2 separate regions of the Homo sapiens genome follow, and region 2 is linked to region 1. Evidence: promoter capture Hi-C in human tissues and cell types (Jung and others, 2019). All regions are on one chromosome and are shown on one strand. Each heading gives the region's core, a stretch centred on a gene start or on the middle of the fragment in contact. The rest is flanking DNA. Distances are from core to core; before and after follow the strand shown. Region 1 holds the start of IL6ST (interleukin 6 cytokine family signal transducer). Region 2 overlaps LINC01948 (long intergenic non-protein coding RNA 1948).

Region 1 (5,428 bases), core at 2,454-4,953:
AAAGTCAAGGATGCTCACAAATGATGGTCTTGATTTTAAGGGAGTAAAACAAGGTTCTGTACTAAGAATAAATGTTACGGTGGGGCTGATAGCTCAAGGAAAAAGGAAATAGTTAGGAAATAGCCTGATAAGGTAAACATAGCTGAAGGTCAAGGGAACTGAAGAGAATAGTGCAGTTAAAATGGTTGATAAAAGGGTTCTTGGGGGGCGGTGGCTCACCCCTGTAATCCCATCACTTTTAGGAGTTGAGATCAGCCTGGCCAACTTGGTGAAACCCCGTCTGTACTAAAAGTACAAAAAATTAGCCAGGCATGGTGGTGAGCACCTGTAATCTCAGCTACTTGGGAGGCTGAGGCAGGAGAATCACTTGAACCAGGGAGGCGGAGGTTGCGGTGAGCCAAGATCGTGCCATTGCACCCCAGCCTGGACAACAACAGCAAAACTCCGTCTCAAAAAAAAAAAGGGGGTTCTTACTGGTAAGTAAGATAAAAAATGATAGGAAACAGCTGATAAACTATGAGAAGAAAGACTGGCTGTCAGGCTGTCACATTGAGGACAAATTACAGATTCAATGGGAATGACCACAGAATAGAGATAGATGGGGGTAGGTGGCTGTAGGTACAGAGAGGGAAACTCACAATCCAGCATTTTGGAGGGGAAGTAATTTCATTGATGACTAGGTTGAAGGTGTGGCTCCATCTGTGGGTTGCTGATACAGAGTGAAGTTGAAGATGATTGGAAAAGAAAACGATGAGAAATTGTGAGGTCAGAGTGCTAATGAGTCATGAACATGGATGCTGAAATCATTAAGGTGATACAGAACATGAGGATAATTCCAGGGCTGACACAGAATTTCAGAAACATAACTGGGCACAGACAAGGAAGTAAAGGGATATCCTAGTCAGCACCAGATTTAGGGAATTAGAAATGCAGGCAAAGTTTGTCTTTGACATTTATCACCTTTGTTCCATGGCACAATTTCCTAAGCTTTGCTCACTTACTCCCAAGTAATTGTAATTTTGGTGCCTTCATGTTACTTTCTCACTGTACAGTTTCCTCAATCTCTTTTTTTTTTTTTTTTTTTTTTTGAGAAGGAGTTTTGCTCTGTCACCCAGGCTGGAGTGCAGTGGCAGGATCTCAGCTCACTGCAACCTCTGCCTCCTGGGTTCAAGTGATTCTCGTGCCTCAGCCTCCCAAGTAACTGGGATTACAGGCACCCACCACCATGCCTGGCTAATCTTTGTATTTTTAATAGAGTTGGGGTTTCACCAGGCTGGTCTTGAATTCCTGGCCTCAAGTGATCCGCCTGCCTCAGCCTCCCAAAATGCTGGGATTACAGGTGTGAGCCACTGCACCCGGCCTGCTCTTGACATATCTAAAATCTCAAATGGTCACAGGACACAAATGGAGAGTTCTCCATTAATATACTACTTTCCCCTACTTACCTTTGCATTTTGACAAGGCTTTCTAGTAACAAATCCTTAATCTGAAATTCGTAATTTCAAGGCCAATACTCTACAGAGGTATCTGCAAAGTCATGTAATTCCAGCACAGCAGAGGTCTTCCGTCCTGTTGCTCTGAAAAATACTTCTCCAATATTGATTCATCCTTTTGGCCTCAGACTTTAACTACTCCCATAAAATGTGAGTTTCTTGGGAGCAGGACCTGAGCTGAGCCAATAAAAAGACACCCATAAAAGCACTAACTCAGTCATTTGTTTTCCTAATGGTGCCAAGGCAGGCTGGTGTGTTGTGACATATCAATCCACTTCTGTGTACCTGCCCTTCCCCGTCCAGCAAAATATCATCATTTTTAATATATGTTGTGATACTAAAATATTTCAGAAGTGTTGACCGAGTAGACATTCAATAATGATTATAGCTGATACTTACAGAGCACCTACTATGTGCCAAACACTGTATGTATTTTAACTCATTTAATCCTTGCAACAATCCTGTTAGGTTGGTATTGTTATTCTCATTTTGCAGATGAAGAAATTTGAAAAGACTTGCCCAAGGTCACAGAGATGAGAAATAGAGGCATCAGCATTTAAACCTAGGCAATCTAGAACCAGAGGGTACATTTAACCACTATACATCTCCCCTAAATACATCTTTGCATCACACCTGTTATCTCAGCACTTTGGGAGGCCACTAAGGCCGGAGGATCGTTTGTTGCCAGCAGTTCAAGACCAGCCGGGTCAGCATACCAAAATCTTGTCTCTCCAAAAATTTTAAAAATTGGCCAGGTATTGTAGGGGCACCTGTAGTCTGAGATACTTGGGAGGTTGAGGTGGGAGGATCGCTAGAGCCCAGGAATTTGAACGTGCGGTGAGCATGATCCAGCCACTGCACTCCAGCCTGGGTGACAGAGTGAGACTGTGAACAACAACAAAAAAATCAAGTTTCCTGGATCTATACAAAATTTTCAATTTAACAAATTTTTATAAAAATTTGTTTTAAAATAAACACCCCTCTAAATGGCAAAGCTAGAACAGAATCTGGTCACAATCTATAGGTTAGATATAGGATGACAGGGAGGAGCAAGAGCTGAACACATCAGCTGCAGCACCATCTACTTTGCCTGCGACTCCGTTAGCAGGCCCACTTTGCCCTTTTATAAATTATCTGATCAACAACTAAGAGATTAAAATTCGATCTATGTTTTACTCTATCTGAATCCTCAATATAATGAAGAACTTTATAATTGTTAATTTATGGATATAATTTAAGTTCATTAAACCATTATTTCCTTCCTATATCCTCTCATTCTTCCACAAAAACCTCTACCTTTGGGTGTTTACTTTTACAGACACCCACGCACACACCCCACACGCACGCACGCACATGCCTTATCTTTTAACTCAAGATTCTCATCTTCCTTTGGGGAGAAACAAACATCATGAGCCTTGAGGTCCATTTTCTGAGGGAAAGGGGGGGGCGGAGGCGGGATGAATAGGTTTTTACCCGGTATTTTTTATCATAAACGGGGAGGTACAAACCGCAAAGAAACACTAGTCGCTTGGTGGGCCACCACCTCTGGGGCTCACTGATCAATCGCACCCAAACTCATTTACTAATTTAAAAAAGTACTGTGGCAAGGCTCGTTTACGTAAGTCTTGGAGAGAAGCCGCCGCCACAATCTGCCGCAGTCTCGTGCGGAGTCACGGCCACCGAGCTCTTCACTTTCCCCAAGAGGCTCCCACGCCTTCCCCATCCCCAAGGGAGCTAGGCGGTCCCTCGCGGCTCTGAGTCCCTCGGGGAAGGCCGCGAAGAGAGGCCGCAGGCGCCCTGGCGAGAAGGGAGGGCGGGGGCAGCGGGCGGCGGGCAGCACCCGGGCTCCAGTTCATGACCCCGTTATTCCACAGAAAAATGGAACATTCCGCTCTTTCCGCCCACAGAGGGGAGGTGGGGGGAACCCTTCGATCTAGTCTGGGAGAGGCGACGCGGACGCAGCCACCGGAATCCGGGACGCGAAGAGCCGCGTTACGGGAATCGCTACCCCTCGGAGTCCCGCCCCCTCGTCGACAGGCGGCCACTGGACCAATGCCTGGGCGCAAAGGGTCTCTCAGGGGCCAATCAGCGCCTAGGTCCCGGTAGGGGGCGGGGCGCAGCGTTGGCCGGCCGGGGGCGCAGCTGGGCGGGATTGGGGAGCGCCCCGCCCCGCCGCGGGACTGGGGTGGCGCGCTACCTCTGCGGAGAAGGATCTGACAGTGTTCCGGAGCCGGGGCGAGCAGCCAAAAGGCCCGCGGAGTCGCGCTGGGCCGCCCCGGCGCAGCTGAACCGGGGGCCGCGCCTGCCAGGCCGACGGGTCTGGCCCAGCCTGGCGCCAAGGGGTTCGTGCGCTGTGGAGACGCGGAGGGTCGAGGCGGCGCGGCCTGAGGTGAGGAGGGGCCGGGTGCTGGGTCGCGTAGCTGGAGTTAGAGTGTCGGTGGTTTCGGACGGGCTATCTGGCACTCGAGGAGACCTCCCTTCCCCCTGAGAGCAGCGCCCGGAACTTGTCAGCCCAGCCTGGAAATCCCCACATTCCTTCCCCTTCCTGCTCCCGGACCTCCGAATTCTACTTCCACAACTTTGTCACCTCGATTATCGCAGCCCTGAGTACAAACTTCACCCAGGCGCACGCACGCACCCCTCTTAACGCCCGCCCCGCAGAACGCCCTTCAAGAACAAACCCCCCTTTTTGTTACCAGATCCCACGTTTTTCCCAATCCCCTTTTCATCTCCCCTGAAATTCTATTCGCTCCGCACTTGTCTTCATTCTCGAGGTGGATTTCCCTTCCCCAAAGCCGTTTTTTCATCTTGAAATCGTAACGTTTCAGCTTTGTTGAAAGTTCACAATGCTTATAAACACTATTAACGTTTCTTTCCTTCTTTTGATCTTTTCTATTAATAATTATCATTCCTAACGAATTCCACATCTCACTGTATCCCAAGGAGAACAAATCAGTTTTTAAAATTTTACCTCCTCCGACCTAAACTTTTGAAGATAGTGCAGGAAGCAAGGGTCTGTTCTTCAGTGGATGAACAGCATTTTATTTCATAATCCGAAACTGAAAAAAAAAAAAAATCACAGGTTAAAAATAAGACGTCACCTTTTTTTTTTTTTTTTTTTTTTGCCTTCAGAAGGAAACGCATTTTGGCTTAGTTTGTGAAGTATTTCAACAATTATACTGCCTTAAAATAACTAGTTATTAGAATGCCAGGGTGAATTTTCTGAAAGATTGTGGTATTTGCTTTTGACAGTGCTGTAAACAAACCCTTTAAACTGTGTATGACTGCCAGCTTCAAGTTGGAACAACTCTTAATTTGAAATTACGGACTCAGATCATCAGTTTAGCTGTGTGCCATTATGTTAATTTCTTAAATTCATGTTAATTCCTATTTGGAAGTATTTTTGAACTATGAACTGAAATATTACATTTATAGAACCAACTTGCTATTAAATTGTGCTTTCCAACTATTTCTCTTTAGGGATAATCTTGAACGTTTGTTTTTAATCTTGAGTGAAAGAAAAAAATTACAGGAAGGAGAAAGTGTCAAAAAGGACAGACTGTAGTGGGATTTTTTTCTTATTTTAAGTATGTATTGACAATACCAGTTTAATTTTCTCACAGGCAATTTAGATTATTATAAATACTGCTGCCACCTAATTTAATATAATATAGTCTTACGTAACTAAAAATGTTGTTCTCACTCTTATTTGTGAATTGCAGTATTTTCAATTTATTTAAATTTGTTTCCAAGGCTTTGCACTTCAGTTCAGTGTTAGGGCGAAAGTTAAATACATGTGAAGTAGGTGTTAAAATGTCCCCTTTATAGAGAAGGAAACAGGAGTCTCGCTGAAAACTAGATCTGTGTGACTCCAAATCCTGTGCTCTGAATCATTTTGTCATGTTGACACGTTTCTCATAAAAACCCCAGTGCCA
Region 2 (6,311 bases), core at 3,227-5,726, 480 kb before region 1:
TGACACTGTGGGGCAAAAGGTGTCCGATTACCAGGCTTTCTATTGCTGCTTCGGCCCCAGGACACGGAAGAGCGACCTAGGTTGGCCTTCTAAAAAATCATCTTATTATTTGAGTAGAAAACACAAACAGTCATACCACTGGAATCTGATAAGGGTTTTCATACTATATGGCTAGTGAATATTAACCCTAGTTGTAGATAAAAGATGACAGATTTAGAGAGCTCAGAAACAAGGTAACATGTAAATAAAACCTCTACTTGTCTAACTTTTTGGAAACAATGTGGCAGCTTTCTGCTATCTGGCCTGGAATCACTAGGTCACCAAGGAAACTGTTTAGATAGATGCCTTTGCTCCTTTATTCATTCATTGTCAGTCAGTGAAAAACTGTGATACTTACTCTGTGCTGTGGACAAATAAGATACAAGCTCATCTGTCCTCGGGGAGCTTATGATATTGAAGGAAGATCAAAAGGAAAAAGTACATGAACTTGAGACTCAGACATGGCAGGGGCGGTATGAGGGACTGATCGGGCTGGGACCATAGGCAGCTGTCTGCCTGGGTTGCTTTGCTTTGGGGGAAAAGAGCTAGTGAAGGGGAGGTTTGTGCTTAGCACTCAGATGGAGCTCAGGGTGAGGGAGGGACAAAGAGGTCAAACTGGTGCAGGCTGGCAGAATATGCCACCCCAAAATATGCCACTTTGACATAGGGATTACGTCAAGTGAAAGACACTTGCAAAACAGCAGAGGCAAGATGAGCATTCTAATCTTCCCCTTTTCTTCCTGAAAACAGGAGATAAAAGCTGCCATGAAAAAGATTCCTTCCCTGTGCCAGGAGAAAAGAAACATTCTTTGATGGGGAGTCATAGCCAAGAGAATTTTGTACAAACAAACCTTGTTAAGATAATTCATATCTTCCTTCAGCTTCTACACATAATTAAGTTACTTTTCCATGATTGCCTCCCTTTGTTTGACCTAATATATGTAGGTTTTGCTATTTCTTTGGGTCTTTATTTTCTTTTTCTTTTTCTTTTTTTATTATACTCTAAGTTTTAGGGTACATGTGCACAACGTGCAGGTTTGTTACATATGTATACATGTGACATGTTGGTGTGCTGCACCCAGTAACTCGTCATTTAACATTAGGTATATCTCCAAATGCTATCCCTCCCCACTTCCCCTACCCGACAACAGGCCCCAGTGTGTGATGTCCCTCTTCCTGTGTCCATGTGTTCACATGCAGTATTTGGTTTTTTGGTCCTTGCTATAGTTTGCTGAGAATGATGGTTTCCAGCTTCAAAGACTTGGAACCAACCCAAATGTCCAACAATGATAGACTGGATGAAGAAAATGTGGCACATATACCCCGTGGAATACTATGCAGCCATAAAAATCATGAGTTCATGTCCTTTGTAGGGACATGGATGAAGCTGGGTCTTTATTTTCTTATGAGGGCTCTTGTATCATGCAAAACTGAGGGTAAATTTGCATGCTTTTGTCCTGTTCGTCTGTCAATTTAATTATCAGGCCTAGCTTGGACCCTAAGTGGGTGGAGGTAAAGCTTTGCCTCACCTCTGTGGCAGCTGTTCTCAAGGCCCTCCCCAAGGGTTAGGGATGCGTCCTATGGAGAGAGGGCTCTCCGGCTTCCAGGAGTGTGGATGGGATTCCTCCGCATTTCTGCTTAGGTCATGGGAGACATTGCCTCAGTGAGAGCTGCAAGAGAGCTGCTCCTGCATCACTAGGGTCACAGCCTAGGAAGGCCCTCACCTCCCTGTTATCCCCTGGGTGATGGCCCTCATGGCATGGGCCTCAGCATTGTTTGGGGGACTATGTCCAGAAAAGCCCACCTTTTCTAGAAGAGTGAGCCCATGAGAGATACATCTACAACTCCGGGGGCTTAAAGTTGAGAGTGGTGAAAGAGGTGCGTTTGATGGGTGGGCAACTTTTGGCACCATTATGGGCTAGAAATCTACCACCATGAGACACCCGGACATTACACAGTTTACCTAATGAGCCCAGTGATGCACAAGAGTTTTGAAAGTTGCCAATAGAAAGATTTTAATTCGAGAAAATTATAATGTGTGATATCTAGATGAGTTGTCATTTTGTTTACCAGTGATTGCTCAATGATTGACTTCTCTGCCTTGACTAGATGCTAAATCGCTCCCGTAACTGAACTCAACACAGACATACTCCCCTCCCACCCCATCACCCCTGTGCTTGGGCCTCAATTAAGTTGTGTTTGTATAAAAATTTAAAAATTGTATCACAGTGTTCCATGGTCAAGCATATTTGACCATGGAACGCTATTATTATGAAGCATCTACTAACATCACACTGAACACTGATGTTCAGTAGACACCATTTGAAAGTGTTAGCCTAGTATTTTACGTTATACCTAAACTATGACCAGGGAAAGGACTGTGCACTGTTTTTATGTACCAGAACCTCCGCTGAATAGAATACCAAATAGGTACTTACAAGTAACTTATTGAGGGATTAACTCTGAGAGTAATTAACTAGTGCAACTTCAAACCCCTTTACTTGGACAATGTCCCATATTCTTTCAGAAAATTATCATTTTAGTAGATGAAATTTAAGAGATACTTTCATTACATAAGAACCTGTCCTATGGGAGTAAAGAAAATGGTACAATCAAGTGTCCTAGATTCAATTATTAGTTTTCTGCCACACTCTGAGTCTGTGAGTAGGAGGAAGGTGACAAGAGCATGAACATGTGCACACGCGCACACACACACACACACGCACACACCAGTGAGTGTGTTGTTCATTGTGATTCTCCATCTTCAAAACTTACCTTAATAACGGCTGCTCTTGCATTACTCATAATAGCCAAAAGGTAGAAGCAACCGAAGTGTCTATCACTGGGTAGATGAATAAACAAAATGTGATATATACATACAATAGAATATTACTCAGCCTTAAAAAGGAAGGAAATTCTGACACATTCTACAGCATGGATGGACCTCGAGGACATTATAGTAAGTAATAAGCCAATTATAAAAAGACAGCTACCATACAATCTTGCTTACATAAGGTACCTAGAGTAGTCAAATTCTTAAGAGACGGAAAGTAGAATTGTGGTTTCCAGGTGCTGGGGGAAGAAAGAATTGTTTAATGGATAAAGAGCTTCAGTTTTTCTAGATGAAAAAGTCTTAGAGATTGTTGCTCAGAAATGTGACTACACATAACGCTACTGAACTATACACTTAAAAATGGTTAAGATGGCAAATTACATTATGTAAGTTTTACCACAGTTAAAAAACAAAATAATAAATAACATTGCTCGATAATGATCAATATACTGAAAATCAAGCTTTAGGCAAAATAACATTATTGTCACTCTAAAGAAATGTTTATGATCTTTATGTGGGAGGTGTAAATCTAGATTTTATTCCTGTTCTTGACTGTTAACTAATTATTCTGGGTTTATGGAAAGAGTCCTGGAGATTGGTTGCACAACCATGCCATGTACTCTATACTACTGAATTGTACACTTACACCTGATTAAGACGGGAAATTTTATGTGTATTTTACCACAATTAAAAGGAAAAAAGAAGACCTGCAGGCTCAGAAGTTTTACAATTTCTAAAGAGTCAGAGAGAGAAAAAGACGCCTAAATATATTTCACTTAAAATTTCTTCAATATTTATTATTTGGAATAAGTAGTGTAGTAATATTTTTAAAATTGCTGTCCTAATACATATCATATTCTTTGAGTTTCTTCTTTTTCTTTTTCTTTTTTTTTTTGAGACAGAGTCTCACTCTGTTGCCCAGGCTGGAGTGCAATGGTGCAATCTCAGCTCACTAAAACCTCCACCTCCTGGGTTCAAGCAATACTCCTGCCTCAGCCTCCCAAGTAGCTGGGGTTACAGGAATGCGCCAAAATGCCCAGCTAATTTTTTTTTTTTTTTTTTTTTTGAGACGGAGTCTCGCTCTGTCGCCCAAGTTGGAATGCAGTGGCGCAATCTCGACTCACTGCAAACTCTGCCTCCCAGGTTCACGCCATTCTCGTGCCTCAGCCTCCCTAGTAGCTAGGACTACAGGTGCCCACCACCACACCTGGCTAATTTTGTTTTTGTATTTTTAGTAGAGACTGGGTTTCACCGTGTTAGCCAGGATGGTCTCAATCTCCTGACCTCATGATCCGCCTTCCTCGGCCTCCCAAAGTGCTGGGATTACAGACGTGAGCCACCACGCCTGGCCTAATTTTTGTATTTTTAGTAGAGATGGGGTTTCACCATGTTGGCCAGGCTGGTCTCGAACTCCTGACCTCAAGCGACCCGTCCCCCTCGGCCTCTCAAAGTGCTGGGATTACAGGCATGAGCCACCGCGCCCAGGCTCTTTGAGTTTCTTCTAAGCTCTGGTGATAGCAATGTGTACTCTACATTGTTTCTGCATGCACTTTAGGAAGCCAAGCATACTCCCCTGACCCTGGCCTATATTACATGATAAAGCATATGTGCAGCTTCCATATTTTTCTTGGAAGGTTAATAGTGCTTTGTTTTCCTCCACCACTGTGGTAGGGGCTGCTGGTGCTCACAATACCCAAGGTCCCCTATTCTTGGGATCCCAATAGATTACACCTCTTAATCCCTGTGCACCAGGGTGGGCTGTAAGACTAGTTTCCATCAGAGTGGATGTGCCTCACCTGAGAGCAGTGGTGCCTTTTCCACGTGTGCTCTTTGCCTTACACTGGCCAAATGGAGAAGATTTCAAAAACTCAGAAGAGGATAGAGCCATAAGAAGGAATGAGCCTGGATTCCTAAATGACTGCATGGAATAGAACTTTGCAGTAGCTCTGTAAGGGAATGTGACCAGAATGAAAGATAAACTTTGCTGTGTTAAGTCACTGGAATTTGGGACTTGTTAAGCAGTTAGTCCGCTCTAACACAACCACCAAAGGTATTACAGAGACAGGATGTGTATTGATGTACCTGTGAGCTAAGGAAAGGTCAGATAGGCAAGGAGCATGGAAATTACAAGTTTCATGATTCCCAGGTGTAAGCGTTTTATGTTGCTCATTAATCATGTGGCAAATATGTTTAAATAAACATAGGCAATTCCTGTTCAACAAATATCTCAAGGGTAAGGGGTTTTGTTGAGGCTTGGACCAGAATGTTAATACCTCCTTTGGGCCCAGCACAGCAGATACAGGAGAAATCAAAGTGAAAGACTTATCAGAGGAAGATAAAACTGAAGCTCAAGTGGGGAGACTCAGGAGCTCCCAGTACAAGAGTCTCTTTCAGAGTTCTAATACCCCAAGTCTTAGAGATTTGAGACTTTTCTTTAAAAGCAATGATCTATGCTGGCACCAAAGAAAATGTAGGGTGGCTCACGCCTGTAATCCCAGCACTTTGGGAGGCCGAGGTGGGCGGACCACAGGGTCAGGAGTTCAAGACCAGCCTGGCCAATATGATGAAACCCCGGCTGTACTAAAAATACAAAAATTAGCCAGGCGTGGTGGTGTGTGCCTGTAGTCCCAGCTACTTGGAAGGCTGAGGCAGAAGAATTGCTTGAACCTGGGAGGTGGAGGTTGCAGTGAGCTGAGATCATGCCATTGCACTCCTGCCTGAGCAACAGAGGGGGACTCCATCTCAAAAATAAAATAAAATAAAATGTAAGACACCCTGACTCTTAGAAGTTCTTCAAATATTATCCATCGAGTCCCGACCCTCATCCCATCCCACCCTTGGTTCTCAGTTGTTCTTACCAACAATTTCTGTGTCAGAGACTGGAACTACGGACTAGCTCCCTCAACTCAGCAGTGCACAACAAATTTGGCCCTGTTGACTTTGAGGGAAGCCCTTGTTCTTGGCCCCAGTATGGACCTTTGGCCAATGGAACTATCAACCAGTTTGTTCTTTCTTGTATAGAATGACCTCTCAGCTTCACACCTATGGTTCTTTTTCAGCTCTGAAACTCTTGTGATCCCTTGTTTGGAGGTTAATAGAGTGCATTTTTATGACCCTTCAATGAGTTTGTATTCACTAGAAATGAAATCCTTATCATGTTCTCCAAGCCTCTGTGTGACCTGGCACTGCACCCCTATGACATCCTGGGCTGCTTCTCACCTTTCCTTATCACAGCTACCCTGGGTGTCAGTTCCTGAAAGATGCTACCTCTTTCTGAGGGCCTTTCAATGGCTGGTTCCTATGCTTGGAAATGTTCTTCTCTCAGCTCTCACCATGCTTAGCTCTTTGTCCTCCTGAAATCTCATCACAAAAGCCACCTCCACAGGGAAGCTTTCTCTGACACAGCCCCCTAACACAGGTCTCTGTATTGGTCACCTTG

Evidence for each region. Contacts are between HindIII fragments. The study calls those that stand out against the background at their distance.
Region 2: a fragment that was not itself captured here is called in contact with the fragment with the promoter of IL6ST in region 1 in 1 of the 25 tissues and cell types used here (dorsolateral prefrontal cortex).

Annotation. Positions count from the first base shown.
Region 1 is chr5:55,993,238-55,998,665 of GRCh38, reverse strand. It overlaps IL6ST (interleukin 6 cytokine family signal transducer), which reads left to right and starts at 3,703. Exons shown (of 17, transcript NM_002184.4): 1 at 3,703-3,882. IL6ST-DT (IL6ST divergent transcript) reads right to left here and starts at 3,499. Exons shown (of 2, transcript NR_102755.1): 1 at 3,112-3,499. RefSeq lists an enhancer at 3,150-3,661, cis regulatory regions at 3,250-3,923, 2,617-4,935 and a silencer at 3,493-3,972. The HindIII fragment of the contact is 11,738 bases long and covers 1-5,428 here.
Region 2 is chr5:56,470,403-56,476,713 of GRCh38, reverse strand. All of the region lies in intron 1 of LINC01948 (long intergenic non-protein coding RNA 1948), which reads left to right. Among named protein-coding and RNA genes, the nearest start is that of LINC01948, 8.2 kb to the left of the region's middle. The HindIII fragment of the contact is 4,062 bases long and covers 2,446-6,311 here.